2 separate regions of the Homo sapiens genome follow, and region 1 is linked to region 2. Evidence: promoter capture Hi-C in 16 types of primary human blood cells and fetal thymus (Javierre and others, 2016). All regions are on one chromosome and are shown on one strand. The core of a region is centred on a gene start or on the middle of the fragment in contact, and the rest is flanking DNA. Distances in the headings are between cores, read along the strand shown. Region 1 overlaps ALG10 (ALG10 alpha-1,2-glucosyltransferase). Region 2 holds the start of IPO8 (importin 8).

Evidence for each region. Contacts are between HindIII fragments. The CHiCAGO score rates a contact against its expected background, and 5 or more counts as called.
Region 1: a fragment that was not itself captured here is called in contact with the fragment with the promoter of IPO8 in region 2 in 3 of 17 cell types (non-activated CD4 T cells, total B cells and activated CD4 T cells); the score reaches 8.7 in non-activated CD4 T cells.

Annotation. Positions count from the first base shown.
Region 1 is chr12:34,025,732-34,029,973 of GRCh38, forward strand. ALG10 (ALG10 alpha-1,2-glucosyltransferase) reads left to right here. Exons shown (of 3, transcript NM_032834.4): 3 at 132-2,571. The coding sequence ends at 1,184. Among named protein-coding and RNA genes, the nearest start is that of ALG10, 5.4 kb to the left of the region's middle. The HindIII fragment of the contact is 2,454 bases long and covers 1,459-3,912 here.
Region 2 is chr12:30,693,759-30,697,970 of GRCh38, forward strand. It overlaps IPO8 (importin 8), which reads right to left and starts at 2,111. Exons shown (of 25, transcript NM_006390.4): 1 at 1,806-2,111. The coding sequence starts at 1,889. RefSeq lists a silencer at 1,861-1,910 and an enhancer at 2,001-2,500. The HindIII fragment of the contact is 4,530 bases long and covers 1-3,853 here.

The DNA of each region.
Region 1 (4,242 bases), core at 1,436-3,935, 3.3 Mb after region 2:
ATATTGATTAATTTTATTTAAAGAAGGTTTGAGTAGTTGAGTAGTTTTTAAATAAATTTCTTCATTAGGTAAGCAGAAATAGCATTTTTTGTCATGAAAATAATTTTATCTGTGTTTCTTCTTCCTCCAAGGCTGCCTCAAGTATCCAGAGAGTCTTGTCAACATTAACACTAGCAGTATTTCCAACACTTTATTTTTTTAACTTCCTTTATTATACAGAAGCAGGATCTATGTTTTTTACTCTTTTTGCGTATTTGATGTGTCTTTATGGAAATCATAAAACTTCAGCCTTCCTTGGATTTTGTGGCTTCATGTTTCGGCAAACAAATATCATCTGGGCTGTCTTCTGTGCAGGAAATGTCATTGCACAAAAGTTAACGGAGGCTTGGAAAACTGAGCTACAAAAGAAGGAAGACAGACTTCCACCTATTAAAGGACCATTTGCAGAATTCAGAAAAATTCTTCAGTTTCTTTTGGCTTATTCCATGTCCTTTAAAAACTTGAGTATGCTTTTGCTTCTGACTTGGCCCTACATCCTTCTGGGATTTCTGTTTTGTGCTTTTGTAGTAGTTAATGGTGGAATTGTTATTGGCGATCGGAGTAGTCATGAAGCCTGTCTTCATTTTCCTCAACTATTCTACTTTTTTTCATTTACTCTCTTTTTTTCCTTTCCTCATCTCCTGTCTCCTAGCAAAATTAAGACTTTTCTTTCCTTAGTTTGGAAACGTAGAATTCTGTTTTTTGTGGTTACCTTAGTCTCTGTGTTTTTAGTTTGGAAATTCACTTATGCTCATAAATACTTGCTAGCAGACAATAGACATTATACTTTCTATGTGTGGAAAAGAGTTTTTCAAAGATATGAAACTGTAAAATATTTGTTAGTTCCAGCCTATATATTTGCTGGTTGGAGTATAGCTGACTCATTGAAATCAAAGTCAATTTTTTGGAATTTAATGTTTTTCATATGCTTGTTCACTGTTATAGTTCCTCAGAAACTGCTGGAATTTCGTTACTTCATTTTACCTTATGTCATTTATAGGCTTAACATACCTCTGCCTCCCACATCCAGACTCATTTGTGAACTGAGCTGCTATGCAGTTGTTAATTTCATAACTTTTTTCATCTTTCTGAACAAGACTTTTCAGTGGCCAAATAGTCAGGACATTCAAAGGTTTATGTGGTAATATCAGTGATATTTCGAACTGTGAAAATGGACTTAATAATTAGACCATTTCTACAAAGAACAACTGAATAGGTGGAAAACATGGAATTTCTTTTAGGTGCAGTGGTGGTCTTCAAATTACATTAGTTTTTTTTATATATATTTTAAACATATGTAAGAAATTAAGTGGCAAAGAACTGAGAAAGCTTAAGACCTGCTTCAAAAGCCTGAAAAATGGAAAAATAAAATTGTTTTCAGATATCTCATATCACTCTCATAATGTTGGCCCCTTAAAAAGCTTGGGAATGTTTTGTATGTACAAGTTTATTAAAACTGGGTATGCTTCATATTACTGGAATGAATTTATTCTCTTCAGAGAGAAATATTAGGTTAGTGCAAAAGTAATTGTGGTTTTTGCCATTGAAAGTAATGGCAAAACCACAATTACTTTTTTACCAACCTAATAACAATGTATTAGCAAATATTTACAAATGGTCAGGTGATATTCTTGATTGAAAAGTTGCTTAACATTTCAGTAATATAATTTTAATTCTAAGTCAAAATACAAATGCATAGATAGTAAATGATAAAGTAGAGACTCATATATGCCTGTCTAGACATCAAATTGTTGGTTATTGTTTACAATCTAGAAATGATGAAGCTCTTTCACTAATTCCTAATATGAAATGTATGATGGCCAAAGACAAATTGTATTGATTATAATCCTTTAAAAGGGGGATTTCCTTTCTGAAATACATATTGTATTAGCTTCCCAGGGCTTCCATAACAAATGACGACAAACTTGGGTGCTTACAACAATTTTCCTCACAGTCTGGAGGCCAGAAGTCTAAAATCAAAGTGTCAGCAGAGTTGGTTCCTTCTGGAGGCTCTAAGGAAGAATCCATAAACAGACATTCTATGTCTGTTTCCTAATATCTTGTGGCTGTGTGCAATTCTTGGAGTTCTTTGGCTTCTGGACAAATCTTGTCCAAGTATTGCAGACAGCAATCTTCACTCCAGTCTCTGCCTCTGTGTTCACACGGCCTTTCCCTCTGTCTTCTCTTCATTACCTTTTAAGGACAGTGTCTTTGAATGTAGGGCCCACCCTGATCTAGGGTGATTGTGTCTGGAGACCCTTAATTATGTTTACAAAGACCCATGTTCCAAGTAAGTTTGTATTCACATGATCTGAGTAGACATTGTCTCTTCGTGGGATACTTTTCAGTCCATGACAGTTACTAAAGGACATTTTAGGATAGTCTTCATATGATTGTTAGGAGACTACCTTTTTAGATTTTTTTTATTATATATCAAATTATAGTTGTATATACTTATGAGAAACAAAGTGGCATTATGATTTTTGAATATAATGTGGGATTAAATAAAGCTAATCTATCCATCACCTCAAATATTTGACATATTTTGTGATGAAAACATTTGAAATTTACTCTCAGCAGTATTGAAATGTACAGTGCTTAATTATTAGCTGTATTCACCATGTTGTGTAATAGATCTAAAAAAAGTCAAACATGCTCCTTCTATCTAATTGAGGCTTTGTATCTTTTGATTATCATCTCCCCATTCCCACATCCCCGGCCTCTAGCAACCATCATTCTTCTCTCTACTTCTGTGAGTTTAATTGTTTTAGATTACACAAATAAGTGAGATCATGTGGTATTTGTCTTTCTGTGCTTGGCTTATTTCACTTACCATAATGTCCTCCAGGTTCATCCATATTGTTGCAAATGACACAATTTCTACCTTTTTAAAGGCCAAATAGTATTTTATTGTGTATATATGCCACATTTTCTTTATCCATGCATCCATTGATGGACATTTAGGTTGATTGAATAACTTGATAATTGTGACTTGTCTGCAGTGAACGTGGAGTGCAGACTTCTCTTTGACATACGGATTTCAAGTCTTCTGGATAAATGCCCAGAAGTGGGATTGTTGGATCAGGAGATAATATCTTAGCCGATACCTTTTAAATAACTCTCAGTATCTTTACTGAGAGGTTAAAAAGTAAGTGACTTCTGAGGTAATATAAAGCTAAAGGTGACTAGTGTTTGATTCCATTATCTATTTAAAAAAATGTCAGAATTGAAAGTTAAGAAATCATTTGGTCTGACCTTATTTTGTAGATTAGGGAACAACTGCTGGGGTAGGATTATTTTGTGTTACTTTTTGAATTTTGTGTTTATTATTTTGAGTGTATTTTTTGGGTTGTCATTCCATTATAGGAAAGTATTATTTGGGCATGTTAAATTTGACATGTAAACTTAGAATTATGAATAGAACACTTCTTTTAACATAATTTTATGTTTCCAAACTTTAAAAGTAGCTATAAGTGAACAAATTACTTTCCCCTCAATGTCAAATTTTGTTTCTCTGAGTTTTAAGTAATGATTCTACATTTACAAATATAAAATTGTGTGTAGGTGAAAATCACAAGTATAATTTGAATGATAAATACAGACCGTTTTTTGGTTGTACTCTAGTACTCAGAAAATAGAGTTGCATTAGTTATAACAGTGATTGTAGAAAAACGTGTTTTACCCAGACTTTTTAAAAATTAGACGAGAGAGGACACTCAGAGAAATTATACTTTTGTCATTAATTTACTATAATAGAGAACTAAATCCGAGAAGTCAAAATTGAAAAAAGAATGTATAATTTAGGGAAAATAACTTTTTGTCTGATAATATTAATGCAAGGATTTTGTATTTAGGAATACTTCTGAGAGGAGAAGCTTCCACTCTGATCTAGTCTGGCAAAATTGAGGAAAATATTCTACCCTGTAATTAAAGAAGACTGCTCTTTGGAGGGATCACTGTTCTAGATTTTTTTTTTTTTTTTTTTTTTTTTTTTTGAGGAGAAGTCTCACTCTTGTCCCCCAGGCTGGAGTGCAATGGCTTGATCTCGGCTCACTGAAACCTCCACCTCCCGGGTTCAAGCAATTCTCCTGCCTCAGCCTCCCGAGTAGCTGGGATTATAGGCACCTGCCACCACGCCCGGCTAATTTTTCCTATTTTTAGTAGAGACGGGATTTCACCATGTTGGCTAGGCTGGTCTCGAAC
Region 2 (4,212 bases), core at 861-3,360:
ATAGCAATAAGCTACCTTTAGAAATTGCTGGGGAAACCACGGTCTGTGATGAGGTGGGACACTATGGGGCAGGGCAGAGTGATGATGGAATGGATTTGGATTGAACTACCATCAAGAGTCTACGGCCATACCACCCTGAACGTGCCTGCTTTTGTCTGAAATACCATGGGAAAAAAAATAGGATTGGGTCTTAAATGTCTCCTAGTTCTGCAGGCTTTCTCATATACTTTTTCCACTTCTATAACATCAACTGTACTTATATACTGATGAATCAGAAAGAAATGAAGGTTAGGTGAAGGGCAGGGAAGTGTAACCTGATATCAAAGGAACACCTGGCCTCATTGTGAGAAGGGGGTCATAAACAGGCCAACTCCCCTGTTCATATTAGTAGACTGCAAATTCAGCTCCTGCTTTGTTCTTCCTAACTAACCCCTGGATTACTATTCTTCCAGCCAGCCAACATACAGTACTTTTACTCTGCAAAGCCTGGGACAGGTACTGACTTTAACTTCCCCCTATTCTAAGTGACAGTCCATTTCTTTTTCAGGCACCAGTGCATTATCTTTGGGCATTAGTTCAACCCAACCTCCTCTCCATTGGCAGTGTCTTCACTCTCCCTTTTATCTCTGGGGAATCCTGCATTTATACCTACTCCAAACTCCACCTAGGTTTCCTATTAAAATAATCCCTTTCAAAGATTCCCAACACGCAGCTTTTTAAAGTCAATTCCAACAGAAACATTTACTTAGGACAGTCACACTTCAGTCACACTTCGGGAGGCACAGAATCACCTGGGGGAGCTAGTTAAAATACAACTGGTCCCACCCCCACAGTTTCTGATTCGTTAAGTCTGGACTGAAGCCCCGTAATTTGCATAATTTGTAAGTTCTCAGGTGATGCTGAAGCTCCAGGTCCTGGGCAACGCTTTGAGAACAGCTGATTTTGGAATATTTACATTTTACAAGTCATCACAACCTAAAACAGCTGTTGCTCCATCCCAGTGGTAGCTCTTAATCCCTACTTTTTAGTAAGAGGTCTGTGATTCTTAAGTACCGGTAGGGAAGAAGAAATAAGCTGGAGTTTGGGATCATTAAAATTTTGAAGTGTGGGGGTAACGCTGGAAAGACGTCAAGGCTAATTAGGAAGAACAGGAGACGGAGAAAAGAAAGAAGTCTTACACATTTTAGCATTCATAAGAAATTTCTCCAACACATCTTACTTTGATGTGTCTTAGATAAAGCAGTATCACCATGAAAACTGCCTATTCTTCCCAGAGCACTCTCCCAACAGCACTGCCCAGCGCTCCGCAAAACTCGGCCAATCGGTGTCAAAACAGTCCTGCCAACCCGACAGGAGGAGGCGGTGGGCAGCGTGCTCCACAGCAACACCTAAAAAGGGCTGGGTTTGGAAAAAAGCTGAACTCAGATTTGAACTGTAAGTAAAATTCCCACCTGCTCCCCAAGTCCGCGCACTTAAGGAAAATAAATCACACCCTGAAAACACTAGCACAGGTTGCAAAAACTGCTTCTTGCGGACCAAGTAGGCAGAACAAACTGCCCTGGAGAAGGGAGACGACACGAAAAGGTGCAAAGGTGGCCAACAGGTGCGCGAGCTGTTCGGCAAAGATCCTGGGAGCCCTGCTCCACTGGACCGGGGGGCAGCGGGGTCGGAGAGCGGGACCAGCCGTGAGGCGTCAGCCCCAGCCCGGTGGGGGTGAGGACGAGGGGCGCCGGGGAGAGGGAGCCCGGCCAGCCGGCAGGGGCGCCCCTTCGGCGGAAGAGGGTCGCCGAAGACCCTCTCCTCACCTGGTTGAGCTCGTTCTCGGCTGCAATCCGCAACTTCGGGTCGATGGTGCCCTTCAGCGCCTGGATGATCCGGTTGAGGTCCATCTCCCCGGGTGGGGGCTCCGCGGCCCCCGGAACAGTAGGCCGGACTGCAGCTTTAGTTTTCTTTTGACCCTCTCAGCCTCCTCTTCCGCGACCCCTGGATTACCTCACACCCCACCCCCCGCCACCGTCGCCACCTGCGGCCACTTGCTGCGCCACTCTGACTCCGCGCCCCCTGTCCTCCCTTTTTCCCCCCCACAACTCGCTCTCCATTCACCGTTTTACGACAGCCGGTGGGAGGCGGGAGAAGGAAGAAGAGGAAGCAGAGCTTCCTTTACGGCGGCCTCTTCCCCCGGGCGTGATGCTATGACCGCCTCCCGTCGGCGGCCGCCATGCTGCTGTACGGAAAACGGCCTAGGCTTCTTTCCCGGAAAGGAACCCGCGCTCCCGAACTCAGGCAGGCGGCCGCTATGCTTCCGTACGGTAAACAGCCTCCCGCCTCTTCCCAGGTGAGGAAACTTGAGCTGGCCGGGAGTCTGCTTACAGCTGCTTCCAAATTAAGCATATCTGGATGGTGTGACACTTTTTGTTAGTCCGAGAACTGTATGGGCATCGCAACTGGGCCTGTTCCAAGATAGACTTGTTGGGACCTTCAAATCATGTACCTTACAGGAGGACAGGGTTCCTCCGTGTGTGGGAGTCATCGTTCATTCATTCATTCGCTTTCACTGAACATTTGTTAAACATATATTTTTGAACCAGAGTACTAGGATTTTTAGGTACCACATTATAACAAGATGAATTCCATGCAAGTTAATGTGAAGGAATTCACAACCTGATAGATGAGACAAATATAAACAAAAAAAATTTACAGTGTAGAAATGATAGGGGAGTGCTGGGAAGGGAAGAGCGTGGTCCCTTTAAATGATAGGGATGGGCGAAGTGAAGTGCTGGGTAGAGGAGTGTGTGGTCCCTTGCTAGGGCTCCACGCCCACCGACCTAGGTGAGGACTGACACTCCTGCCTTCCAGCCCAAATGTTGCATTTCCCAAGACCACCCTGGCCTGCCACTCCCCCATACTGTGCCTATGAAAACCCCAGACCCTAGCAGGCAGGTACACAGGCAGCCAGACGTCCAGAGGAGCATAAGGGTGGAAGAAGAGGAGCTCGCTGGCACATCCGCAGGCCATTCACGGGCAGAACGATGCGGAGGTTGGCCTGGGCAGTCGGAAAAGAGCCCGGGCCGCCAAGCGGCCTAACTCCAGAGGAAAACCATTTCCCTTCTGGGTCCCTCATCTGCTGAGGGCTACTTCCACTCAATAAAACTTTGCACTCATTCTCCAAGCCCACGTGTGATCCAATTCTTCTGGTACACCAAGGCAAGAACCCAGGATACAGAAAGCTCGCTGTCTGTGCGACAAGGTAGAGGGTCTAATTGAGCTGGTTAACACAAGCCCCCTAAAGGCAAACTGAAAGAGCATCCTGTAACACACACCCACTGGGGCTTCAGGAGCTGTAAACATTCACCCCCAGACTCTGTCAAGGGGTCGGAGCCCCACAGCCTGCCGGTCTGTATGCTTCTCTAGAGGTCTGAGCAGCGGGGCACTGAAGAAGCGAGCCACACCCCCAATGCACGCCCTGTGAGGGGGACAAGGGAACCTCTCCCATTTCAGAAAGACAAAGGTCACAGAAACTGAAAACTACATCCCTGAGAGTTTTATGAAAAATTTTCAGACCTTCTCAAAAATGTAGTGAAAGGTAAGCAGAAAAGTTATACTGTTTCTATCCACTGTGGCCATATCTGGCGCCACAATTTCAATGGCATGAAAATATCAAGGAGCTGGTTCTTCCTGAGGTTAACCCAGAAGAGAGGGTTCTAATTACATTTAATAAAGATGATGATGTGGGCAAAACACAGCTGAGGGGCTGTGATCTTTTCAGGAGCAGATAATTAAGATAGATTGGGTCAATTAACTGAGTTCAATTGAGAGAGTAGAAAACATGTGGCTGAAAACTTGGTGGCTTGAAAGCTTCCCCCTCAGTTGGATGCAAAAGTGCTTCACAGTGAATTTAACATGTCTAATTGCTTCCAGTATTGCCCCTCTTTAATCCATTATTCACACTATCATCAGAAGAAAGTTTCTGAAAAGTTAATATTACTATGTCTCTTCCTTGATTTCTCATCAATTTCAAAATAAAATATAAACTTAGCACTCCAGAGTCTTATGAACACTATTTCACTAAACCACTCTCTTGGACATCATGAATGTCTAAAAAATTTTTTATCTCTGAAAATCTTAACTCCAATATCCTCTTTTATAATTAGAACTAATTCTTCCATTTCTCTCTTCCTCAAAAATTCTAAGCTTGTTTTCCAATTCAATCAC